Linked DNA regions of Homo sapiens: all the other regions are linked to region 4. Evidence: promoter capture Hi-C in 16 types of primary human blood cells and fetal thymus (Javierre and others, 2016). All regions are on one chromosome and are shown on one strand. Each heading gives the region's core, a stretch centred on a gene start or on the middle of the fragment in contact. The rest is flanking DNA. Distances are from core to core; before and after follow the strand shown. Region 1 has its middle 19 kb from the start of UQCRHL. Region 2 has its middle 4.7 kb from the start of DDI2. Region 3 overlaps AGMAT (agmatinase (putative)). Region 4 holds the start of FBXO42 (F-box protein 42).

Region 1 (7,065 bases), core at 426-2,925, 530 kb before region 4:
GAGGCTGCAGTGAGCCAAGATCACACCATCACCCTCCGGCCTGGGCGACAGAGTGACAAGACTCCATCTCAAAAAAAAAAAAAAAAAAAAAATTGTTGGCTGGGCACGGTGGCTCACATCTGTAATCCCTACACTTTGGGAGGCTGAGGCAGGGGGATCACCTGAGGTCAGGAGTTCGAGACCAGCCTGACCAACATGGAGAAACCCCATCTCTACTAAAAATACAAAATTAGCCCAGCGTGATGGCGCATGCCTGTAATCCCAGCTATTCAGGAAGCTGAGGCAGGAGAATTGCTTGAATCCTGGAGGTGGAGGTTTCAGTTAGCAGAGATCGTGCCATTGCACTCCTGCCTGGTCAACAAGAGTGAAACTCCATCTCAAAAAAAAAAAAAAAAAAAAAAGCTTCAATAGCTATTAGGCATAAATGTTGCAGGATAAAATATACATGATACTTTATATCTGTATTTAATCACATGTTCCAATAAAGAATGATAAAGTAATACATTGAAAATACAAATTGGCCAAGCACAGTGACTCACGCCTGTAATCCTAGCACTTTGGGAGGCCCAGGTGAGTGGATCATCTGATCTCAGAAGTTGGAGACCAGCCTGGGCAACATGGAGAAGCCCCATCTCTATCAAAAATACAAAATATTAGCCGGGTGTAGTGGCATCACCTGTAGTCCCAGCTACTCAGGAGGCTGAGCCGGATGATTAAAAAAAGAAAATACACATTTTGACTTGTTTTTTTTTTTTTTTTTTTTTTTGAGTGGGAGTTTCACTTTTGTTTTCCAAGCTGGAGTGCAATGGTGTGGTCTCTGTTCATTGCAACCTCTGCCTCCTGGGTTCAAGCAATTCTCCTGCCTTAGCCTCCGGAGCAGCTGGGATTACAGGGGCGTGCCACCATACCCAGGAAATTTTTTGTGTTTTTAGTAGAGATGGGGTTTCACTATGTTGGCCAGGCTGGCCCTGAACTCCTGACCTCAGGTTATCCACCTGCCTTGGCCTCCCAAAGTGCTGGGATTACAGGGGTAAGCCACCGAGCCTGGACTTGACTTTTGATTATATTTATCAGTACATAGAATTCTGAAGGTGAGCTGGGTTGGGTGGCTCATGCCTCTAATTCCAGCACTTTGGAAGCCCGAGGCAGGCAGATCACTGGAGGTCAGAAGCTCGAGACCAGCCTGGCCAACATGGCAAAACCCCTTCTCTACTAAAAAACACAAAAATGAGGCTGGACGCGGTGGCTCACGCCTATAATCCCAGCACTTTGGAGGCTGAGGTGGGCGGATCACGAGGTCAGGAGATAGAGACCATCTTGGCCGACATGGTGAAACCCTGTCTCTACTAAAAATACAAAAATTACTTGGGCGCAGTGGCACGTGCTGGTAATCCCAGCTACTCAGAAGACTGAGGCAGGAGAATCGCTTGAACCTGGGAGGTGGAGGTGGCAGTGGGCCGAGATCACGCCACTGCACTCCAGCCTGGTGACAGAGCTAGACTGTGTCTCAAAAAAAAAAAAAAAAAATTAGCCGCCTGTGGTGGCGCATGCCTGTAATCCCAGCTACTTGGGAGGCTGAGGCAGAAGATTGCTTGAACCTGGGAGGCTGCAGCTATAATAAGCCGAGATTGCACCACTGCACTCCAGCCTGGGTGACAGAGGAAGACTCCGTCTCAAAAAAAAAAAATTTATGAAATTCTGAAGGTGGAGCTTGACCCCAAAGTGATATATCTGTTTTCCTTTTTTTCTTTTTTTTTTGAGACGGAGTCTCACTCTGTCACCCAGGCTGGAGTGCAGTGGCACGATTTCAGCTCACTGCAACCTCCACCTCCTGGGTTCAAGTGATTCTCCTGCCTTAGCCCCACGAGTAGCTGGGATTACAGGCATGAGCTACCACGCCCAGCTAATTTTGTATTTTTAGTAGAGACGGGGTTTCTCCATGTTGGTCAGGCTAGTCTTGAATTCCAGACCTCAGGTGATCTGCCTGCCTCAGCCTCCCAAAGTGCTAGGATTACAGGCATGAGCCACCGCGACCAACCTTAATATTTGTATTTTATTAGAGATGGGGTTTCACCGGGTTGGCCAAGCTGGTCTTGAACTCCTGACCTCAGGCAATCCACCCATCTCGGCCTCCCAAAGTGCTGGGATTACAGGTGTGAGCCACCGTGCCCAACCCACGTTTTCAAATTAAGCACGTAGACAATCTTTTTATTTCACTGTTGTTCACTGGGATGTGGTAGAACTAGAGCAGGGTCCAATATGGGGGAAGAAAGTCTTTTAAAAAGAAAATTATGGCTGGGTGCGGTGGCTCACGCCTGTAATCCCAGCACTTTGGAAGGCCAAGGCAGGTGGGTCATGAGGTCAGGAATTCGAGACCAGCCTGGACAACATGGTGAAACCCCGTCTCTACTAAAAATACAACAATTAAGCGGGTGTGGTGGCACATGCCTGTAATCCCAGCTACTCAGGAGGCTGAGGCAGGGGAACCACTTGAACCTGGGAGGCAGAGGTTGCAGTGAGCAGAGATCAGGCCACTGCACTCCAGCCTGGGTGACAGAGCGTGACTCTGTCTCAAAAAAAAAAAAAAAAAGTAAAGAAAAATACAGCCGGGCACAGTGGCTCACGCCTGTAATCCTAGTACTTTGGGAGACAGAGGCAGCAGGATCTTTTGAGCTGGAGTTCTCCCAGCCAAGAAATAATTTATTATTCATGTTATCATGGAGCAGATATGAGGGTAGAAGGAGACCACATCCTGGGAGTGTAACAATTCCTCCAGAAGCCCTAAGGTTTTGAGTTCCCTCTTGCTGCACTGACCCAGGAACTTCCTAAAACAGAAGGTACTTTCCAACATCACAGTCTCTGGCATCTTCCCCTCTAAGCCTCACTGTCAGACTTTTCCAAAGGTCATACTTACTGTTTTTTTTTTTTTTTTCTTCAATCCATTCCAATCAAGCTTTTGCCTCCTACTCCACCCAGACAGCTTGTGTCAAGGTCACCCATGACTTCCACTTATTCATACAACACTCAATTTTCATGCCTCAGCTTAATCTCTCAGCAGCATTTCATAGTTGACCATTCCCTTCACTTTTTTTTTTTTTTTTTTTTGAGACCGAGTCTTACTCTGTCATCCAGGCTGGAGTGAAGTGGTGCGATCTCGGCTCACTGCAACCTCCGCCTCCCGGGTTCAAGCAATTCTCCTGCTTCAGCCTGTCGAGCCAGCATTCCTGTGCGTCACCATTCCCGGCTAATTTTTGTATTTTTACTAGAGACGGGGTTTCACTATGTTAGTCAGGCTGGTCTCGAACTCTTGACCTCGTGATCTGCCCGCCTCGGCCTCCCAAAGTGCTGGGATTACAGGCGTTAGCCACCGAGCCCTGCCCAAGCCGAGCTAATTTTTTTTTTTTTTTTTTTGAGATGGAGTTTCACTCTTGTTGCACAGGCTGGAGTGCAATGGCACAATCTCAGCTCACCGCAACCTCTGCCTTCCAGGTTCAAGCGATTCTCCTGCCTCAGCCTCCCAAGTAGCTGGGATTACAGGCATGCGCCACCACAACCAGCTAATTTTGTATTTTCAGTAGAGAGGGGTTTCTCCATGTTGGTCAGGCTGGTCTCGAACTCCCAGCCTCAGGTGATCTGCCCGCCTGAGCCTCCAAAAGTGCCGGGATTACAGGCATGAGCCATCACACCTGGCCAATTTTTGTGTTTTTTTAGTAGAGTTAGGGTTTCATCACATTGGCCAGCTGGTCTCGAACTCCTGACCTCAAGTGATATGCCTGCCTCGGCTTCCCACAGTGCTGGGATTACAGGTGTGAGCCACCCTGCCAGGCCACCTGCTCCACTTTCTTGACTTCCTGGACACCACCCTTTCCTGGTTATCCTCCGACCTAACTGGTTGTTCCTTCTCATCCTGCTTTGCAAACCTTCTTCTCAGACCTTTTAACAGTGGAGTGCTTCAGGGCTTCCTTTATCCTATTTCCTTCTATATTTATGTTAGTGATCTCATCCGGTTTGAGGCTTTTAAATGCTAGCTATATATAGGATAACTCTCTCACACACAAATATACATAATATACAAAAAGGGCATATATAAAAATATACATCTCCAGAACTTCCTCCTAAATCAAGACCCATATATCCAATAGCCCACCAGCGTCTCCCTTTGATATCTAATAAACACCTCAAATTGAACATGCCCAAACTGAACTTCTGCTCTTCCCCTGCAGAACTGCTCTATCCAGTCCTCCTTCATTACAACTCTTTTAGTTGCCCAGGTCAAAAAATGTTTTGGCTCATCCTTGCCTCCTCTTTTTATCAATCCCAGGTTCAACCTACCAGAAAGTCTGCTTGGATTTACTGTTAAAATATATCCAGGGCCCGGTGGCTCACACCTGTAATCCCAGCACTTTGGGAGGTCAGGAATTTGAGACCTGCTTGACCAACACGGTGAAACCCCATCTCTACTAAAAAATACAAAAAATTAGCCAGGCGTGGCGGCACATGCCTGTAATCACAGCTACTTGGGAGGCTGAGACAGGAGAATCGCTTGAACCCGGGAGGTGGAGGTTGCAGTGAGCCATGATGTCGCCCACACTGGGCGACAAGAGTGACACGCCATCTCAAAAAAAAAAAAATTAGCCAGGCAGTAGTAGCACACACCTGTTGTCCCAGCTACTCAGGAGGCTGAGGCACCTGGAAGGCGGAGGTTGCAGTGAGCCGAGATTGCACTACTGCACTCCAGTCTCGGCGACAGAGTGAGACCCTGTTTCAAACAAACAAACAAACAAAAAAAACGGCCAGGCGCGGTGGCTCATGCCTGTAATCCCTGTACTTTGGGAGGCTGAGACAGGCAGATCACGTGAGGTCAGGAGTTCGAGACCAGCCTGGCCAATATGGTGAAACCCCGTCTCTACTAAAAATACAAAAATTAGCTAGGCGTGGTGGTAGATGCCTGTAATCCCAGCTACTTGGGAGTCTGGGGCAGAATAGCTTGAACCTGGGAGGCGGAGGTTGCAGTGAGCCGAGATCGCACCACTGCACTCCAGCCTGGGCGACAGAGTGTGACTCCGTCTCAAACAAAAAAACAAAACAAAACAAACAAAAAAACACACTCACTCTAGTCCACGCCCGCAGCCATGCCGACCAAGGGCCCGCTGCAGTCGGTGCAGGTCTTCGGACGCAAGAAGACAGCCACAGCTGTGGCGCACTGCAAACGCGGCAATGGTCTCATCAAGGTGAACGGGTGGCCCCTGGAGATGATTGAGCTGCGCATGCTACAATACAAGCTGCTGGAGCCAGTTCTGCTTCTCGGCAAGGAGCGGTTTGCTGGTGTGGACATCTGTGTCCGTATGAAGGGTGGTGGTCACGTGGCCCAGATTTATGCTATCCATCAGTCCATCTCCAAAGCCCTGGTGGCCTACTACCAGAAATATGTGGATGAGGCTTCCAAGAAGGAGATCAAAGACATCCTCATCCAGTATGACCAGACCCTGCTGGTAGCTGATCCTCGTTGCCGGGAGTCCAAAAAGTTTGGAGGCCCTGGTGCCCATGCTCGCTACCAGAAATCCTACCGATAAGCCCATCATGACTATCAAAATTCACCTGTATAATAAACAGTTTTTGAGGGATTTTAAAGTTAAAAAACAAAACAAAACAAAAAACACAAAAATTAGCCAGGTGTGGTGGCATGTGCCTGTAATCCTAGTTACCCAGGAGGCTGAAGCAGGAGAATCGCTGGAACCCAGGAGGCAGAGGCTGCAGTGAGCCGAGATCATGCCACTGCACTCCAGCCTGGGTGACAGAGCAAGACTCCATCTGAAAAAAAAAAATCTCTCTCTCTCTCTATATGTATCTCCAGGATATATTTTGGTCATTAAAGCCACCCTCCCCTTCACTTGGATTACTGATATGGCCGATTCATTTGGCTCCTGCTTCTACCCTGGGCCTCTTTTTTTTTTTTTTTTTTTTTTGAGACGGACTTTCGCTCTGTTGCCCAGGCTGGAGTGCAATGGCGCAATCTCGGCTCATCGCAAGCTCTGCCTCCAGGGTTCACCCATTCTCCCACCTCAGCCTCCGGAGTAGCTGGGACTACAGGCCCCCTCCACCACGCCCGGCTAATTTTGTTTTTGTATTTTTAGTAGAGACGGGGTTTCACCCTGTTAGCCAGGAGGGTCTCGATCTCCTGACCTCGTGATCCGCCCACCTCGGCCTCTCAAAGTGTTGGTATTACAGGGCCCAGGGCCTCTTATTTTCAATACTTTGGGCAATCCTTCTAAAACCTGTCATATCATTAAAAGCCATAAAAACCTATTACAGTTTACCAGGTTCTACAGATCTGCCCCACACACTCCTCTGACTCTTTGACATTCATCCTATACCCCCGTCTTGACCATTCTATTTTTTTTGAGACAGGGTCTCACTGTCACCCAGGCTGGAGTGCAGTGGCTCAATCAAGGCTCACTGCAGCCTCGACTCACTTCCCAGGCTCAGGCAATTCTCCCACCCAAGTAGTTGGGACCACAGGTGCACGCCACCATGCCTGGATAACTTTTATATTTTTTGTAGAGACGAGGTTTCACCATGTTCCCAGGTGGGAGTGCAGTGGTGCAATCATAGCTCACTGTAACCTCAAACTCCCAGGCACAAGCAATCCTCCTGCCTCAGCATCCCAAGTAGCTGGGACTAAAGGCGCACAACACCACGCCCAGGTAATTGTAACATGCTGTAGAGACCAGTCTCGCTATGTTGCACAGGTTGACCTGGAACTCCTAGCCTCAAGCAATCTTCTCACCTCTGCCTCCCAAAGTGCTGGGATTACAGGCATGAGCCACCACGCCCAGCTATGACCATCCTATTTCAACCACACTGATTTCCTTCCTCTATTTCATATGTGCCAGTCATGCTTGCTCCTCCCTGAAGGTGTTTTCATTTACGATTCCCTTTGCAGTCTCTTCCCTAGATATCCACGATTTGCTCCCTTAGCTCCTGCAAATCTTCATTCATAAATTATCTCTTTGTTGGGGCGCCATGTCACACACCTGTAATCCTAGCACTTTGGGGAGATGAAGC
Region 2 (6,489 bases), core at 467-2,966, 740 kb before region 4:
CCTGCCTTGGCCTCCCAAAGTGCTGGGATTACAGGTATGAGCCACCACGCCCAACTCTGTCTTTTTTATTATAGCCATCCTAGTGAGCATAAAGTGGTATCTCATTTTGGTTTTACTTTGTATTTTTATTTTATTATGCTTATAGTTTCTGTAGGTCAGAAATTCAAAGGCAATACAGTGGAGACGGCTCCATAATGTCTGAAGCCTCATCTGGAAAGACTCATAAGTTGGAGATGATTCAACATCTGGGGGTTGAAGTCATCTGAAAGTGTCTTCACTTCTGTGCTTGGTGAGTTTTCCCGCTAATCAGCTTTCCCCTCAGCTGAGCAGCTTTCTGGAACAACCACACGTATTTTCTCCATGCGGTCTCACCGTGTGGTGTAGTTTGGGCTTCCTCACAGCATGGCTGCTGGGTTCCAAGAGCAAGCGTTCCAAGAGAATCACGGAGAAGCTGTACTGACTTTTTTTCAGCCATTGATTTATTTTTATTTGCAGTTTGTATTCAATACAAATCAATTTCATAACAAGTTACTATGAATCAAAGCATACACACACAAATATACAATCCAAAATAGATGTACAGCATTTCGGCATGGAGCAAAAGGGAGTGTTCATTCACACACACAGTGGAGTGGGTTCAGATCTGTTCCATCTGCTGTTCCCGTGTAGGTTTCTAAAGATGGAAAAAAAAAGACTACTGTGGCCATATTAGATGCTGGAACACATAAGCATCAGTGTGTGACCTTGTGAACAAAGGACTTCAGGGAGTGTCTATTTTTAAAAAGGTTTCTGTGTGTCAAGACAGTTGTAAACATTTTTATTACAGAATCAAGCTTACTTTGCGGTTTAGGACCAGGTTCTAACTATCTAAAAATATTGACATAACAAAATGTGTTTCAAACAGGGCATGATGGCTCATGTCTGTAATCCCAGCACGTTAGGAGATGAGGTAAGAGGATTGCTTGAGCCTAGGAGTTCAAGAACAGCTTGGGAACATAGAAAGACTCCTATTTCTACAAAAAGATAAAAATTCGCTGGGAATGGTGGCACACGCATGTAGTGCTAGCTACTTGGGAGGCTGAGGCAGGAGGATTGCTTTAGTCCACGAGGTTGAGGCCGCAGTGAACTCTAGCCTGGGTAACAGGGTGAGACCATGTCTCTTAAAAAAAAAGGCCCCAGCTGGGTGCGGTGGCTCACGCCTGTAATCCCAGCACTTTGGGAGGCTGAGGTGGGCAGATCACGAGGTCAGGAGTTCAAGACCATCCTGGCCAACATGGTGAAATGCCGTCTCTACAAAAAATACAAAAATTAGCGAGGTGTGGTGTTGTGCACCTGTAATCCTAGCTACTCGGGAGGCTGAGGCAGGAGAATCACTTGAACCTGGGAGGCGGAGGTTGCAGTGAGCCAAGATCGCTCCATTGCACTCCAGCCTGGGCGACAGAGTAAGACTCTGTCTCAAAAAAAAAAAAGCCCCAAAATGTGTTTTAAATGCAGCTATTCTGATCCATAGTTGTTGTTTGCAAAAAGCATTTACAGAAAAAGAGTATAGCCTGGGCACGGTGGCTCAGGCCTGTAATCCCAGCACTTTGGGAGGCTGAGGCGGGCAGATCACCTGAGGTCAGGAGTTTAAGACCAGCCTGACCAACATGGAGAAACTCCATCTCTACTAAAAATACAAAATTAGCCGAGCGTGGTGGTGCGTGCCTGTAATCCCAGCTACTCAGGAGGCTGAGGCAGGAGAATCGCTTGAACCTGGGAGGCGGAGGTTGCGGTGAGCCAAGATCATGCCATTGCACTCCAGCCTGGGCAACAAGAGTGAAACTCCATCTCAAAAAAAAAAAAAAGAAAGAAAGAAAAAGAAAAGAGTATAAAAGTTTTTGTGACTTTAATGCAAGTTAACTTTCAGTCTTTACTTTCCAAATACTTGATATACAGTTTTTGGCTCCTTTACATTTTTGCCCTTTTAATTTCAAGGTTTATAATTTTACCTTCAAAACAGATCTTTTTTTGTTTTTTGAGATGGAGTCTCACTGTGTCTCCCAGGCTGGACAGCAGTAGCATGATCTTGGCTCACTGCAACCTCTGGCTCTAAGGTTCAAGCAATTCTCCTATCTCAGCCTCTGAGTAGCTGGGATTACAGGCACACCACCATGCCCAGCTAATTTTTGTATTTTTAGTAGAGACAGGGTTTAATCTTGTTGGTCAGGCTGGTCTCGAACTCCTGACCTCAAGTGATCCACCTGCCTCAGCCTCCCAAAGTGCTGGGATTACAGGGGTGAGCCACCGCACCCAGCCCCTTAATGAATCTGGTGTCCTTGTTGAACGAAAATAGGTGAAATGAAATGCCTACCATTTGACTCTCTAAGGATAAACAAGAGTTATTGATGATGCTTGGACTTGGGGGTAGATTGCAGTCTATCATTGCCCTGGCACATGTCAATTACTAAATAAAAGGTCAAATGCAATGTCAAATCCAAATCCTCAGAGGAAAAAGAATTCAGTTACCAAAAGAACAGTGATAGCCTAACAATGTAAAACTTAATATATTGGCATTAAATTAGTACTGCTGAAATAATACATTGAGGATTTATAGAATGATGGAAGCTTTTTTTTTTTTTTTTGAGACGGAGTCTCACTCTGTCTTCCAGGCTGGAGTGCAGTGGTGCGGTCTCAGCTCACTGCAGCCTCCACCCTCCGAGTTCACACGATTCTCCTGCCTCAGCCTCCCGAGTAGCTGTAATTACAGACACTTGCCACCGTGCCCAGCTAATTTTTTGTATTTTTAGTAGAGATGGGGTTTCACCATCTTGGCCAGGCTGGTCTTGAACTCCTGACCTTGTGATCCACCCGCCTTGGTCTCCCAAAGTGCTGGGATTACAGGTGTGAGCCACTGCACCCAGCCGATGGAAGCTTTTTTAAACTTTAAGACAGGATCTTGCTCTGTCACCCAGGCTGGAGTGCCATGATAATGGCTTACTGCAGCCTTGACCTCCAGGGCTGAAGTGATCATCCTACCTCAGTCTCTTGGGTAGCTGTGACCACAAGTGTGTGACACCATGCCCACCTCTTTTTTTAAATTTGTGGGCCAGACACGGTGGCTCACACCTGTAATCCCAGCACTTTGGGAGGACGAGAGAGCTGGATCGCCTGAGGTCAGGAGTTTGAGACCAGCCTGGCCAACATGGTGAAACCCCATCTCTACTAAAAATACAAATATTAGCTGGGCATGGTGGCATGCTCCTGTAGTCCCAGCTACTCAGGAGGCTAAAGAAGGAGAATGGCTTGAACCCGGGAGGTGGAGATTGCAGTGAGCTGGGATCGTGCCATGGCACTCCAGCCTGGGGGACAAGAGTGAAACGCTGCCTCAAAAAAAAAAAAGGAGATTATGGCCAGGTGCAGTGGCTCATGCCCGTAATCCCAGCACTTTGGGGGGCCCAGTGGGTAGATCACCTGAGGTCAGGAGTTTGCGACCCGCCTGGCCTACATGGTGAAACCCTGTCTCCACTAAAAATACAAAAATTAGCCAGGTATGGTGGTGGGTGCCTGTAATCCCAGCTACTCAGGAGGCTGAGGCACAAGAATCACTTGAACCTGCGAGGCAGAGGTTGCAGTGAGCTGAGATCGCACCACTGCACTCCAGCCTGGATGGCAGAGCGAGACTGTGTCTCAGAAAGGAAAAACAAAAAATAAAAATTAGCGGGGCATGGTGGTGCAGGCCTGTAATCCCAGCAACTTGGGAGGCTCAGGCAGGAGAATCACGAGCCAGGGAAGTGGAGGTTGCAGTGAGCTGAGCTCGCACCACTGCACTCCAGCCTGGGCAACAGAACAAGACTCCATCTCAATAAATAAATAAATTAATTAAATTAAAATAAATTTTTTTTTGTAGAGATGGGGTCTCACCCTGTTGCCCAGGGTGATTTCAAACTCCTGGGCTCAATCGATCCTCCTGCTGTGGCCTCCCAAAGTGCTAGGATTACAGGTATGAGCCACCCCCACCCCTGCCAATGGAAATCTTTTATTTTACTGGTTTTACTGCCGTATAGACTTAATGAACCAAATGAAAACTGAATCTCCACTCCATATTACATCTTTATTTCTAAACAAGATAAAATCTATTATTTATTATTATTTTTTTTTTATTACCCAAGTTTTGTCTCAGGATCTACTATTCTTATTTTCAAGGTAGTTTTAACTGTCCACATTTCTTAAGCCACATTCAAGAAATAATGTCTTCAATTTTGGATGTTGCCTCTCTTCATCTTGTACATGACATTTAAGCAGATTTAATATTGGCATCCATCATCTAGTCAAACCCTTCACGTGTTCTTCAAAGCAATTAAATTTGGGGTTCTCAACCTTTTCTTTCTTTCTTTCCTTTTTTTTTTTTTTTGAGATGGAGTCTCACTCTGTCGCCCAGGCTGGAGTGCAATGGCGCGATCTCGGCTCACTGCACCCTCTGCCTCCCATGTTCAAGCCATTCTCCTGCCTCAGCCTCCTGAGTAGCTGGGATTACAGGCACACACCACCACGTCTGGCTAATTTTTATATTTTTAGTAGAGACGGGGTTTCACCATGTTGGTCAGGCTGGTCTTGAACTCCTGACCTTGTGATCCACCTGCCACCTGCCTCGGCCTCCCAAAGTGCTGGGATTACAGATGTGAGCTACCGCGCCTGGCCTTTTTTTTTTTTTTTTTTTTTTTTGAGACAGAGTTTTGCTCTTGTTGCCCAGGCTGGAGTGCAATGGCGCAATCTCGGCTCACTGCAACCTCTGCCTCCCAGGTTCAACCAATTCTCCTGCCTCAGCCTCCCAAGTAGCTGGGATTACAGGCATCCACCACCATATCTGGGTAATTTTTCTGTACTTTTAGTAGAGACGGGGTTTCACCATGTTGGCCAGGCTGGTCTCAAACTCCTGACCTCAGGTGATCCACCTGCCTCGACCTCTCAATGTGTTGGGATTACAGGCATGAGCCACCACACCTGGCCAGGTTCTCAACCTTTTCTGTATCAGTAAAAGAAGGTGTGAAATTAATAGATTTGATGAAGACCCGCTTTTTTTCTTGCCACATTGGACTCCTAGATGCCATTTGGAATGGGTTTAGAAGACACGGAAGTATAGATGTTTCTTAACAGTAGAAATATAGAAGAGAAAGCAAGACCATGAGGAGACTGGCAGTTGACTGCAGGGCACAGCCAACTGCCTTGGTGGTGGCATTAGCTGGGTTTGGGGCAGACAAGGTACCCTGGGAGGAGTTACTTGAAAACGTTACAATAGTTTGATTTGAATAAATCTGCATAAGTAGGAGCAGTGCCAGAAGCAGCAGCCCCAGCCTGAGCCTGTCCACCATTGCTTTGTCCCCTCCATTGGTGTCTGGCATATATTGCTGGATGCTGGGTGAGAACTGCTGGCTCCAGGTGGACACAGGCGAGACCTAGCCTTAAAAATCACACAAAGTGGCTGGGTGCGATGGCTCACATCTGTAATCCCAGTACTTCGTGAGGCCAAGGTGGGAGGATCACTTGAGGCCAGGATTTGGAGATTAGCCTGGTCAACATAGCAAGGACTCATCCCTATTTTTTTTAACTAAAAATAATGTAAAATCATAATAAAAAGGAAATCAAGCCTGGGCAACATAGCAAGATCTCATCTCTACTAAAAAGAAATTAGCTGCGTGTGGTGGTGCACACCTGTAGTTCCAGCTGCTGGGGAGGTTGAGCTGGAGGGATCACTTGAGCCCTGGAGGTTGAGGCTGCAGTGAGCCATGATCGTGCCACTGCACTCCAGCCTGGGTGACAGAGCCAGACCCTGTCTTGATAAAAAAAAAAAAAAAAAAGGAAATCACATAATGTCACTTATGCCAGAGTTAGTCTGCCGAGCCATGATTCAAAGGGAGGGACATTCACCCCACTTCTTAATGGGAGGGTTATCCAATCATGTTGTAGGAAGAGCATAGACGATGGGAGGCACTGTCATGGTCATCTTTGGAGAACAAAATCTGCCAGACCTGGGAACCTGAGCACCACTAGACCAAATATAACAATTAATCAATGATTCAAGCCTCAACTGATTCCTTGATACCACCACTGGGCAATCCTAGAACATTTCTCAGCTAAACTTGCTTCAATTTGCAATGGTTATTTCAAACATTCACTGTAGAAGGCACTGTGTACATCTTTCCTAATACCCATTCCCAGCCCCCCTTTTCCCTATTTATGTCCTTTAGGCAAAGCTAAATACTTGCGTTCCTAGCCTCTCTTGCATCTATGTGACACAATTCTGTCCAGTGAGATGTAAGCAAAAATGTGCACAGGGACTTCTGGGCAAGCTTTTTCCTTGAATAGGAAAATGATGCGTGCAGTGGAGGCAGCCAGCCATATATTGCAACCCTCAGGAAAAGGTCAAGACAATTACAAAAGTATTGGCCCTGATTTCAGTGAGCCACTCAACCAGTGCTGTTGCTACCTCCAGGCCTTCTCTCCTGTGAGAAA
Region 3 (6,372 bases), core at 912-3,411, 770 kb before region 4:
CCTCAGGTGATCCACCCACCTTAGCCTCCCAAAGTGCTGGGATTACAGGTGTGAGCCACTGTGCCCGGCCTCCTCCCCTCTTCTAAGCCAGCACCGTCCGAGGGGTTGGTCGATTTCTGCTTGTCTCCCCCGCCCAGCGATAGACTTCCCATGGCCCATAAACCAACTTCCTCACTCCTATGCTCCTTATGCCCCTGATGATGCAAACTCAGCCTTGTATCCCTGCTTCAGACTTGATTAGTAAAGCCCCCGCTCAATCCCTGGCTGCCACTGGTGAGGCAACGGAGAGGAAGACATTTTGAGGGGCAAGGGTGGGGGGCATTCGGTCTGTCACCTGGCTCCGGTTGTATCTGTAGGGATCCAAGGTCGTGGAAGAGCCCCGGATGCCAATCTGCACCACACGCTTACAGTCCAGGAGACCCTCATCCACACACCGGCGGAAGGGCGCCCCGTGGTAGAGCTTCTCTCCTAGGGCCTTGTCGGTCGTGTCCGTGTGCGCATCCACGTGCAGCAGCCCCACTGGGCCATGCCTGATGACAACAGGGCAGCTCAGAGGCCAACCCTCCCTGTGGGGCCCTAGCACAGCCACCCTTCGGGCCACCAAAACTTGGTGACAATTCACAGCCAAAAAGGGGAGACCTGGCATCCGTTTTCTGCCTTGCAACTGGTTCCTGTCTTCTTGAGATCACTTTGCATCTCAGAGGAACAATAAACTCACAGAAGTCAGGCAGGAAATAGACATGTTTTGGCTGCCACCCACACCTATCACCCAGAATTTGCTTCACTTAGAGACAGGATGAGAATCAAGGGTGGTGGCACAGGGGAGCTTGGCTGAAGGCTTAACTAAACCAAGACACACCCTTTCTCCAACCGAGGAAGAGGAAGCTTTAATCCAGCTCTCTCCATAACCTCCATCAACCCCTGCCAGCCACCCAAAATAAACATCTGATCCAAATCCGTGAGGAATAAATGCAGCTTTGAGCAAAGACCTGCACCCTCCCACCTCCAACCAGAATGCCACCCACATGTGCTTCCACAGACACATTCTGGAGCTGCCACCCTCCACCCGGGTCCTTCTGTCTCTTTCTCAAACTAAATTAGCCAAAGTCGGCCAATCCTGGGTAGACTTCCACTACTGGCAAATCAGTCTTTTGATTGAGAAAGGTGCCCTTTCAGGAGGAAACAAGGGCCTCTCAGCAAGGTCCACCATTGTGCCTGTCAGTGTTTGTTTTTGGCCATTGAAGCAAAACAGAAACTGAAGTTAACTGAGGTTGTGTATTTCACTAGAGGCTCATCTTCCAAAAACAGAAGCAAGTTGAAAATGCTGAGCACACATACCAGGAGAGATCTAGGGCAAGGGAGGGTGGCCAGAACTGTTAATAATAAATTGTCTTGGCTTCTAGCTGCTGACTGACAGAGACACCTGGAGCTCAACCTTAATTTTGATCCCCAGAAGCAGCTCATAACCTGAGCCAGCAGCAGTCACCTAATGCCACCAAACAGCAAATAACTCATTCCCTAGCTTCTGGCTTTTGAAATCTTGCTGGGCCCAAGCCATTTGAGACTTACTTTTTTGCCATCGCTTGCAATATGGGATATGTGATTGTGTGATCTCCACCTGCAAAGAGGAAGAAGAAAACATCTGGAAAGTGAATTGGAGGATTACATAGAATAATCTTTTTTTTTTTTTTTTTTTTTTGAGATGTAGTTTTGCTCTGTTGTCCAGGCTGGAGTTCAATGGCACAATCTCGGCTCACTGCAACCTCTGCCTCCCAGGTTCAAGCGATTCTCCTGCCTCAGCCTCCCGAGTAGCTGGGATTACAGGTGTGTACCACCATACCTGGCTAATTTTGTATTTTTAGTAGAGACGGAGTTTCACCATGTTGGTCAGACTGGTCTCAAACTCCTGACCTCAAGTGATCCACTCGCCTTGGCCTCCCAAAGTGCTAGGATTACAGGCATGAGCCACCATGCCCAGCTGAATAATCTTAACTCAATTTTCACCCTTTCAGCCTGGGGGGAGTTATAACCACAGCTACAGTAAGATCTTATAGAATGGCAGGATGCTGAATGAGCCTGGGAGGTCAAGGCTGCAGTAAGCTGTGATCGTGCCACTGCACTCCAACCTGGGCGACAGAGTAAGACACTATCTCAAAAAAATGAATAGCTTGCTGGGCACGGTGGCTCATGCCTGTAATCCCAGCAGTTTGGGAGGCCAAGGCGGGCAGGTCACCTGATGTTGGGAGTTCAAGACCAGCCTGACCAACATGGAGAAACCCCGTCTCTACTGAAAATACAAAATTAGCCGGGCATGGTAGCGCATGCCTGTAATCCCGGCTACTCTGGAGGCTGAGGCAGGAGAATCACTTGAACCCAGGAAGCGGAGGTTGCGGTGAGCCAAGATCGCGCCACTGCACTCCAGCCTAGGCAACAAGGGTGAAACTCCATCTCAAAAAATAAAATAAAATAAATAAATAAATAGCTTGAGCCTAGAAGTTTGAGACCAGCCTGGGCAACACAGCAAGACCACGTCTCTAAAAAATAAAAATAAAAATAGACCAGGCGCAGTGGCTCACACCTTGGGAGGCCAAGACAAGCAGATCGCCTGAGCCCAGGAATTCAAGGTCCACCTGGGTAATACATTAAGACCCCGTCTTTGCAAAAAATACAAAAATTAGCTGGGCATGGTGACAAACGCCTGTAGACCCAGCTACTCGGGAGGCTGGAGTGGAAGGATCACCTGAGCCCAGGGAGGGCAAGGTTGCAGCGAGCCATGTCGGCACCACTGCACTCCAGCCTGGGTGACAGAGTGAGACCGTGTCTCAAAAATAAATAAATAAAAGAGGAAATTAGACAAGTTAAGAGCTACTCTAGGAATTGCCTTTTCACAGTATTCTAGGAAAATGCCTAGAATAGCTCTGTTCAATAGAACCTTCTATGATGATGACAATGTTCTATCTGCACTGGCCCATATGGTAGCCACTATCCACATGTGACACACATGTGACATACATGTAGCTAATATGACTTAAGAAACTGAATATTTTATTTTAATTAATTTGAATTTAGGCCGGGCGTGGTGGCTCACGCCTGTAATCCCAGCATTTTGGGAAGCTGAGGCGGCGGATCACCTGAGGTCAGGAGTTCGAGACCAGCCTTGCCAACATGTTGAAACCCTATTTCTACTAAAAATGCAACAAATTAGCTGGGCGTGGTGGCACGCGCCTGTAATCCCAGCTATTCAGGAGGCTGAGGCAGGAGAATCACTTGGACCCAGGAGGCGGAGGTTGCCGTGAGCCAAGCGGGACAACAAGAGCAAAACTCTGTCTCAAAAAAAAAAAGAATTTAAGTAGCCACATGTGGCTAGTGGCTACCTTACTGGACAGCACAGACCTAGGAAAGTATTCTTTCTGATAATAATAACAGTTAACATTTATTGAAGCTTCAGATATGCCATGCATAGGTCGGGCGCAATGGCTCACGCCTGTAATCCCAACACTTTGGAAGGCCGAGGTGGGCAGATCACCTGAGGTCAGGAGTTCGAGACCAGCCTGACCAATATGATGAAACCCCGTCTCTACTAAAAATATAAAAATTAGCCGGGCATGCTGGCGGGCGCCTATAATCCCAGCTATTCAGGAGGCTGAGACAGAATTGCTTGAACCCGGGAGGCGGAGGTTGCAGTGAGCCGAGATCGTGCCATTGCACTCCAGCCTGGGCAACAAGAGTGAAATTCTGTCTCAAAAAAAAAGAAAAAAAAAAAAGATATGCCATGCTTGATGCTGGGCATTTCATGTGCACTTTCATTATATGCCCCTCACATCATGCAGTGAGTAGGTGTTACTGTGATCATTCCCATCTTACAGGTGAGGGTGTGAAGCATCAAGCACGGTATACAGCAACATTGCTAGGGAGAAGTGCAGCTGAGACTTCAAACCATGCCATCGGGAAACCACACTCCTCCCACTATGCCATGCAGGCTAGGCTCTCTAACTTGGCAAAAATGAATTTGGATATTTAGGAAAAGATCCCTGTCATTTTAAGTATTTGTGAACAAGAGAAAAAGTGAGAGTGGGTCAGGGGTGAGGATAAGGGGAAAGCTGCCCTATAGGTTGATGTAGACCCTGAGCAGGACAAAAACACCCTCTTTGCAGTTCTCCTCGCAAATAAAGTCATTAGAAACATCATCTTGGCCAGGCGCGGTGGCTCATGCCTGTAACCCCAGCACTTTGGGAGGCCAAGGTGGGCGGATCACTTGAGGTCAGGAGTTCAAGACCAGCCTGGCCAACATGGCAAAACCCCGACTCTACCAAAAATACAAAAATTAGCCAGGCATGGTGGTGGGCGCCTGTAATCCCAGCTACTTGGGAGGCTGAGGCAGGAGAATTGCTTGAACCCAGGAAGTGGAGGTTGCAATGTGCCGAGATTGCACCACTGCACTCCAGTCTGGGTAACAGAGTGAGACTGTCTCACACACACACATACACACACACGTGAAATATTCTCTCCCCAGGGATTAAAATAAATGAATTACAATGCTCTCTTTCCTACTGTCTGCACATTTGCAGTGGCTTGCAGGGGAGAAGTAGCTGTACTCAAGCCCCTGAGTACAGGATAAGTAAACCCTGAGTGCAGGGAACTACTCTGGCTCTTGCAGACTGACATTACCCAAGGTCAGAGGAATACAGCCAGCTGCTACAATTTTCTCATAGGCCTCTTGAATTCGCCGGCAGCTGTCCTGAAGGTTGTAAAGATTGACATTCACATCGCCTAGGTCTGCAACCATGAGGGACTGGAAGGGGAGGGCCCCCGTGCTAGGATTGACTGTCCCAAGCATCACTGATTCTTCCCGGATGCGGCGAGGTCCGAATCTGCAGAAGGAAGAATCATCCTGTCAGCCATCATCTGCAGAGATTTCAGGCTTTGCTTAGGCCAGGGCTTCTCAGCCTCAGCAATTTGGGGCCAGATGATTCCGTGTCGCGGCATTGCATAATGGAATGCTTAGCAGCATCCCGGCCTGTACTCACTAGGTGCCAGTAGCACCCTTCCTCCAAGGTGTAACAACCCAAAACGCCTCCAGATACTGCCAAATGTCCCCGGAGTGCAAAACCGCCCCACTTGAGAATCACCGATCTAGGCTATGTATCGAAGAGACTAAATAAGTGTACTAAATGGCATTAGTGAATTTCATGATCTACCTGAGTCTCAGTTTCCTAATTTGTAAAATATTTACCTTGCACTGTAGTAAAAATTAAATGAGGTAATCTATGCAAAGCACCTTGCACTTAGGAGACATTTAATAAGTGCTGGCTTTCATAATTCAGATCAGTACGGTCAGATATAGTGTTGCTGAGCTGAATCAGAAATTGCTGACGTTCAATAACTAGGAAGATGAATTTTGCTTCCTCCGACTTGATCCTAGGAAAATTGCCTTCATTTGAGCATTTCTTGAGTCAGGTGACATCTTCAGATTTGGGGAAGGGGCAGCCAGTTTCTGCTCTCAAATGCAATGTCACCTGCCACTGTAAGCTGGGGAGAGGAGAGGGGAGGAATCCACAGCAGCCATCCCAGCAAGGCCCCAGGATGGGGACACAGAGAAGGTTCAGGCTCCAGAATCCCTTCTTTTTTCTTTTTTTGAGACGGAGTCTCACTCTGTTGCCCAGGCTGGAGCGCAGTGGCGCAATCTCAGCTCACTGCAACCTCCGTCTCCCGGGTTCAAGCGATTCTCCTGCCTCAGCCTCCCGAGTAGCTGGGATTACAGGCCCGCGCCACCATGCCCGGCTTTTTTTTTCTTTTTTTTGTACCTTTGTAGAGACAGAGTTTCACCATGTTGGTCAGGATGGTCTCGAACTCCTGACCTCGTGATCCGCCCGCCTCAGCCTCCCAAAGTGCTGGGATTACAGGCATGAGCCACCGGGCCGGCCAAAATCCCTTCTTGACCAATGATGACACTAAGATGTGGGAGGCCACGCCCATGTTGAGCCCTGGGGTTTGCTTATTGAGGGTCCAGGTAAATCAACCATCTCAAACCATAAGGGGCATTTTGGAGCCGGCCACCAGCTTCCAACTCGACCCGGGGCCAGCAGGGGCGCCTGTCTCGGTGCTTTCCATGCCCGACAGCCAGCAAGCAGTCCCTCCACGTGTACCCGGCCCCCGTCCTTCCGGCCTTACCTCGCCCCAGGCCGGTTGGAGGTCCCAGTATCCAGGGGCACCCCGATGAAGGCAGCGTCCAGCCCCTCGGGGGAGGTCTGCACCGGCAGGCGCATCATGGAGCAGACGCCCACCGGCCGGGCCACGAACTCGGGGCTGGGGGGCTGGTTCCGGGGCGCGTCGGAAGCCTGGCGGCTCTGGCGGCGCCCCGGATGAAAGAGC
Region 4 (7,123 bases), core at 2,625-5,124:
CAGGAGAATCGCTGGAACCCGGGAGGTAGAGGTTACAGTGAGCAGAGATTGCGCCACTGCACTCCAGCCTAGGCGATAGAGCAAGACTTGGTCTCAAAAAAATAAAAAAGAAAAAGAAAGTTTAGTGTAATTCTCACTTAAGCGGTCAGCTTCAATCAAAAAGGAATTAAGATCTTCTCATTTTATTTATTGTTGGGAAAAAGGAGACAGTACTAATAACCACCTATAATCAACATTGTAAGGAATAACAATTAAATATTTACTGTATTAATTGTCATCAAATTAAAAACACAGTGCCTCTTGTACTAGTTTACAAAACAAAAACAAAAAAGCATCATCACTCTAAAGTTGTCACCACTTAGTAATCTGAGATATTTTAATTGCAGCTGCAATGTTTGTGTTTGTTGCCTGTGTATATGACTCATATAGAAAGGTTTTCCCAAGACTGCTGGATTTTTGAGAATGCAGAAGCCATAACTGGGGCATACTGTGTGGGAACTGTCATGACAGTGAATGAATAAAAGGGGAAAAGAACCCATGACAGAATTTTTTTTCAAGTTTTTATAAAAAGCAAGTCACTCACTAAAGGCAGACTCTGCAGAATAATAGGAAAGGTTGGGGAAAAGCCATCCCTGCTCCAAGAAGCCTTCCTTGACTCTCTTGGTTGGATTCAGTGCACTTCTTAACACTACATAGCACTTAACGGGTTTCCTTGTCTGGCTCCCCAGCCATACTATATGCAACTTCAGACCAAAAGCTGTCTTAAATTAGTACCTACTTCCCAAAACACCCGCCATATGGAGGGCCCTCAGTAGGTGGTTCATAAATAGGAATAATCAATTTTACATTTACCTTTTATTTTACATTTTACAAAGCACTTTCACGAACACTATCTTTTCTGATCCACATTAACAATCGTGGGAAGGGCTTTATTTAATCAAATGGCTTCTGGTTTTATAAAGAGTTAATTCAGGGCCGGGCGCAGTGGCTCAAGCCTGTAATCCCAGCACTTTGGGAGGCCAAGGCAGGTGGATCGCCTGCGGTCAGGAGTTCAAGACCAGCCTGGCCAACATAGTGAAACCTTGTCTCTACTAAAAATACAAAAAATTAGCTGGGCATGATGGCAGGCACCTGCAATCCCAGTTACTCAGGAAGCTGAGGCAGGAGAATCGCCTGAACCGGAGAGGTGGAGGTTGCAGTGAGCCGAGATCATTGCACTCCAGCCTGGGAAACAAGAGCAAAACTATGTCTCAAAAAACAAACAAAAAGAGTTAATTCATTGACTAAAACAATTCTGAAATCACAAAGATAATTACGTATTTGTTCATCTTTGAGATAGCTTCTCCCTGGGACCTCAGTGTTCTCATAAAACTCAGACGTTTTGTTAGCATTTTCTTTGCTTGCTCTCCATAATAGGTAGGACTCACCCTGCTCTGAATCTTACTCAGGGTTTAAACCACATAAAGCTGTTATTAAAGACCCCTCTAGAAATCAGACAAGAAGAAGCATCCTAAGCTATTTTTTTTCTGATCCTGTTCTTTTTGTAACTAAGGTAAGGAATTGCAAAGGTCAAAATCTGGAGAGCAAATGATGTCATGGATGTCATGAAGTTGCATCAATACCTGATGATGATTTAGCATAACAGTGCAACATATTATGCCAAGAAGCATAATGATGAGCCACCAGGATGTTTTACTGCATTAATTTCATGACTCTTTATTAGCAAATTGATATGCAAAGTAGCTCTCCAATTTTCTACCACAGAGAAGCTGCTGGTTCAGATTTACATCTTTAGCAAAGACACTAAGAAAATCGACAAATTTCTATGGAAAAGTCTTTGATTTAAAAATAGAAAAGGAGGCTGGGCACGGTGGCTCAAGCCTGGGGTGGGGCAGGGTATCGCTTGAGACCAGGAGTTTGAGATCAGCCTGGGCAACATCGGTGAAACCCCGTCTCTACTAAAATTACAAAAAAAAAAAAAAAAAAAAAAAAATTAGCGGGCGTGGTGGCGCACACCTGTAATCCCAGCTACTCAGGAAGCTGAGGCAGGAGAATCGCTTAAACCCAGGGGATGGAGATTGCAGAGAGCCGAGACTGTGCTACTGCACTCCAGCCTGGATGACAGAGTGAGAAACTGCAAAAAAAAAAAAAAAAAGAAAGAAAGAAAGAAAGAAAGAAAGAAAGAAAGAAAATGGTCAAATAATAACCTAAACAGTTGTCATTTTAACAATGAAAAGCTTTTTAAGATACGCAACATGCCTATGGATCAATGTAGATTGAATCATCTATTTATACTGGCTTGTCAAAAGCAAACAGTTACTGGGTATAAAATGACAACATACAATAGAAAAGACACCCAATCAGATTACACACGTGAATACACTCAAAGTTAGCAATTTAACACAGCATCACTAATGGCCATAAGATATACAGACTTAATTCTAAATATTCAATTCTAAATGATGGTACTTCCCCCAAATTTTCCTTGCCTCTTTAAATCCATGATGTCATCATTCTTAAGCAGAAGTAAAGCCAATTTGTTACAAAAGATATTTTGGTGTGTCCAAGCAAAAGCAATCGCCTCAACAATTCTGCATAGCACAAGTTCAGTGAAGCCATCATTCCTCAAGAAAGAGACCACAAGGCTTCAAACCGACTTCCCTACATGACAGAAACACAATCGAAGTCTCCCAATTAGCATTTAAACAGCAATAAAAGTTGTTCTCAAAAAGGAACAACATAGTTTCAACGTCGGGGCCAGCAACTGCCAGCAAGTAAAACTGGTAATGTGTCAGAATCTTCATCTAGATCGATCAGAATCCCACCACAGAAAAATCCAGACTCTGGCAATTAAGAAATGAGGCTTTTATTTTCCTAACAGAAATCGGGAGATTTAACAGACAAAGCAATTGGTTATTCTGAATCTTAACAAACCGAAGGTTTCAAACGAACTCAGCGCTGAAGTTACTCTGCAGCGACCATCAAGATCTCACAATCGTTTTCTCTTCGCTTACAAATTCGTTCCCACCCTCCACCGTTCCCTTTGCACACACAATTCTCGCCAAGAGAAGCCTTCCACAGTCACAGCATGGATTGCTGTCTCAAGCAAGGAGATCCGCAGTTCCCATTTCTCTAAGGGAACACTCAACAAGCTAGGGGATAGGAAAGGCCTTTTGTGTTTTATTTAACGTAAACCAATTCCAAAATTATCCCTTTGCAGCTGCAGGTTCAGAGATGCTAGCCCCCAGCCGCAGCCCCAATTTTGATGGGCACCCGACCCCCGACTCCTCTCTCGCAAAGGAGTGAAATGTTCGGAGGAGCGATGAAAGATTACCTGACACCCTAAAGCCATCCTTGCCCGGGCCACACACCCCTTCACTGCCCGGGTGAGGGGACGAGAACCACCCTGCTGAGGAGAGGGGGTGGGTTCGCTCCCAACCCAAGGGCTGGCTGGAAAGGAGCTGTCCTCCTCCTCGCCTCACTCGAGGACGGCGATAGCAAGTCACCCTGCCCAACCAGGACCGACCCCCGCGTGGGATACGGGGCCTGCGTCAGACCCCGGGCGCCCGCTGCCCCTTGCCAGTCCCGGGCATAAAGGGCAGAAGGCGCCGGCTCCCCTCTGCGGCCCGGGGAGGAGGAGAGGCCTCACCTGGCCCAGCCCGCTCCACGCTCTCGGGTTCGCTCCGCTGGCGACGGTAATGAGGGAGCCAGGGACAGGGCCAGAGCAGAGGCGCTCTGCCTCAGGCCGCGACAGCCGTGCTCGGGGCTCCTCACAGCTGGCGGGACCCCGAGCCGCCCGGAGCCGCCATCTTCCTCCACTCAAACGCCGCCGCCGCCGCAGCTGCTGCTGCTCAGGCCGGGAGAAGACAGCGCAGAGCGCGCATGCGCCGGGGCGGGCGCGGCGGACGCGCGCGCACTCACGTCAGCGCGGCGGGATGGCGAGGGGCGGCCAGGGGGCGGCGCAGTGTTGAGAAAGGCCGTGGTCACAGGCCGAGGTTCTGTGGAGGGTGGAATGCGCTCGGGGGAGCTAGGCCTCCGCACCCGCCTTCGCCGCGTCTCTAGCGTCGACCTGATAGCCGCACCCACCCTCCGCTGCACTGTCTGGGGCAACTGGGTGGTTTTCCCGGTGGTTTGAGACTAACATTTAGCCAGGAATTAACTCACTTCTACCCCGAGGGCCCGATGAGCAGAGAGGGCTGTGGCGGATGTGAGTGCTCTTGGATATCGCCAAGGGGAGGGAAACTGTGCTTGAGGTGTGCAGGAGAAGTCTTCCCTTAACCGTAGCCTCGTAGCAACCACTGTGAGTTCTTACTAGCTCCACTTTTCAGATGAGGAAACTGAGGCACAGAAAACGATCACTTATTTGCCCGGAGTCACACACCTATCAGTGGAGGTGGGGCGGCGCGGGAAAGAGGATTTAAACTCAGGCTTGTCTGGTTCCCAAGCTCCTTTACTTCCTACTAGCTAGGTTATAGGATCCAGCAAAGTCCCCCTTCTCAAGGGAGCAACCTGGTGTGTAGGTGAGAACCTTCATGAGCCCAGCCCTACAGCATGTGGTCTAAGGAAATGCCAGATACAGAGTCAAAGGCTTCAGTCTAAACTCTGTAAGCCAAAAAAACAAAACAAAACAAAACAAAAAACTAAGCCCCCACCCCCCCCCCAACACCAAACCATCTGAACGGACTTCCTCCTAGGCCAGGGCAGTCTAAAATGTAACCAACCTGAGAGACTGGTTCAGGCCATGACGGGAAGCAGGACATGAGACATGCCTCATTACATCCTTCAGCATTGACATCAACACAACAGACCTTAAGACTGGTAAGAAACATTTACAATCTGTTCTCTCTGGAGCCCACCTGCCACTTGGAGGCTTCACGTGCGTGATAAAACTTTGGTGTCCACAATCCCTTATCATAACCCAGACATTCATTTCTATTGATAATAACTTTTTTTTTTTTGAGACAGGGTCTAACTCTGTTGCCCAGGCTGGAGTCCAGTGATGAGTTCTTGGTTCGCTGCAACCTCTGTCTTTCAGGCTCAAGCTATCCTCCTACCTTAGCCTCCTGAGTAACTGGGACTACAGGCGGGCACCACCATGCCTGGCTAATTTTTCCATTTTTTTTGTAGACACAGGGTTTCGCCATGTTGTCCACTCTCATCTCAAACTCCTGAGCTCAAGTAATCCACTTGCCTCGGCCTCCCAAAATGCTTGGATTACAGGCGTGTGCCACCGCACCAGGCCTATTGATAATAACTATTTCAACTCATTGCCAATCAGAAAATGTTTAAATCTGCCTATAATGTGGAAGCCCCCACTTCAAGTTTCCGGTCTTTCTGCACCGAACCAATGTAGTTTTTATTTATTTATTTACTTATTTTTATTTATTTGTTTATTTTTTTGAGACTGAGTCTTGCTCTGTCGCCCAGACTAGAGTGCAGTGGCACCATCTCCGCTCACTGCAACTTCCGCCTCCTGGGTTCAACCGATTCTCCTGCCTCAGCCTCCCGAGTAGCTGGGATTACAGGCGCCCGCCACCGTGCCCAGCTAATTTTTGTATTTTCAGTAGAAAATACAAAATTCAGTAGAAAATACGGGGTTTCACCATCTTGGACAGGCTGGTCTCAAACTCCTGAACTCGTGATCCACTCACCTCGGCCTTCCAAAGTTCTGGGATTACAGGTGTGAGCCACGGCGCCTGGCCTTTTTATGTATTTATTGAGACAGGGTCTCACTCTTCGCCCAGGCTGGAGTGCAGTGGTGTGATCTCCACTCACTGCAACCTCTGCCTCCCAGGTCCAAACGATTCTCGTGCCTCAACCTCCTGAGTAGCTGGGATTACAGACATGTGCCACCACACCCAGCTAATTTTTGTATTTTTAGTAAAGACGGGGTTTCACCATGTTGGCCAGGCTGGTCTCGAACTCTTGCCTCAGTTGATCCACCCGCCTCGGCCTCCCAAAGTGCTGGGATTACAGGCATACGCCCCTGCACCTGGCCCTGTATTAATATATCTTAAATGTATTTGATTGATGTCTCATGTCTCTCTAAAATGTATAAAACCAAGCTGCTTCCCAACCACCTTGGGCACATGTTCTCAGGATCTCCCAAGGGCTGTGTCATGGGCCATGGTCACTCATATTTGGCTTAGAATAAATCTCTTCAAATATTTTACAAAGTTTCCTCCTAGGAAATCTCATGGGGCATAGGGCTGGGCCAGAAGCCAAGTTCCCCTCAAGTTGGAGGGCAAGGCCTCTTTGAGCAGACTTGGGTCACCCTTACCCATAGAGAGCTGTATGAGCCAGAGGCGGTGGTGCATACTTGTCAGCCCAGCACTTTGGGAAGCCAAGAGGGGAGGATCGCTTGAGCTCAGGAATGCAAAACCATCCTGGGCACCATAGCAAGACCCCATCCCTACAAAAAGTTGAAAAATTAGCTGGACATGGTGGCATGTGTACCTGTAGTTCTAGCTACTTGGGAGACAGAGGCAGAGGGTTGCTTGAGCTCAGGAGTTGGAGGTTGCAGTGAGCTATCATCACCTCACTGCACGCCAGCCTGGGTGATAGAGGGAACCCATCTCAAATAAATAAATAGAAAGCAGTATATTCTTACGTTCTTCAAACCTGAATAATGCAAAGTCCCCTAGGGATACACTCAGGGAATCCCAGTGGGAGAAACATTGATTTAAGAAAATCATGTTTTGGCCAGGCGCGGCGGCTCACGCCTATAATCCCAGCACTTTGGGAGGACGAGGCAGGCGGATCACCTGAGGTCGGGAGTTCGAGACCAGCCTGACCAACATTGAGAAACCCTATCACTACTAAAAAAAAAAATACAAAATTAACCAGGCGTGGTGGCACATGCCTGTAATCCCAGCTACTCGGGAGGCTAAGGCAGGAGAATTGCTTGAACCCGGGAGGTGGAGGTTGTGGTGAGCCGAGATCGCATCATTGCACTCCAGCCTGGGCAACAAGAGCGATACTCCCTCTCAAAAAAAAAAAAAGAAAGAAAAGAAAAGATAAAGAAAATCAAGTCTTTCAACTAGGAAATTTTACTGCAAAAGAGAAATTGGGCAATTATAACTGGTAAAGGAAATATTTTTAAATCTGGTTTTTAAATCTAGTT

What was found. The method cuts DNA at HindIII sites, captures the fragments that hold promoters and counts their contacts. A CHiCAGO score of 5 or more calls a contact.
Region 1: a contact is called between a fragment that was not itself captured here and the fragment with the promoter of FBXO42 in region 4, in 1 of 17 cell types (fetal thymus). The highest score is 5.3, in fetal thymus.
Region 2: a fragment that was not itself captured here is called in contact with the fragment with the promoter of FBXO42 in region 4 in 1 of 17 cell types (activated CD4 T cells); the score reaches 5.3 in activated CD4 T cells.
Region 3: a contact is called between a fragment that was not itself captured here and the fragment with the promoter of FBXO42 in region 4, in 1 of 17 cell types (activated CD4 T cells). The highest score is 5.2, in activated CD4 T cells.

The regions. Positions count from the first base shown.
Region 1 is chr1:15,823,100-15,830,164 of GRCh38, forward strand. It overlaps the pseudogene RPS16P1. Among named protein-coding and RNA genes, the nearest start is that of UQCRHL, 19 kb to the left of the region's middle. The HindIII fragment of the contact is 2,551 bases long and covers 401-2,951 here.
Region 2 is chr1:15,609,517-15,616,005 of GRCh38, forward strand. It overlaps the pseudogene CD24P1. Among named protein-coding and RNA genes, the nearest start is that of DDI2, 4.7 kb to the right of the region's middle. The HindIII fragment of the contact is 1,771 bases long and covers 832-2,602 here.
Region 3 is chr1:15,578,525-15,584,896 of GRCh38, forward strand. It overlaps AGMAT (agmatinase (putative)), which reads right to left. Exons shown (of 7, transcript NM_024758.5): 1 at 6,172-6,372; 2 at 4,669-4,871; 3 at 1,570-1,618; 4 at 335-530. Among named protein-coding and RNA genes, the nearest start is that of AGMAT, 3.3 kb to the right of the region's middle. RefSeq lists an enhancer at 6,020-6,069 and a silencer at 6,180-6,372. The HindIII fragment of the contact is 2,557 bases long and covers 884-3,440 here.
Region 4 is chr1:16,348,606-16,355,728 of GRCh38, forward strand. It overlaps FBXO42 (F-box protein 42), which reads right to left and starts at 3,875. Exons shown (of 10, transcript NM_018994.3): 1 at 3,650-3,875. RefSeq lists an enhancer at 3,140-3,914. The HindIII fragment of the contact is 4,914 bases long and covers 2,236-7,123 here.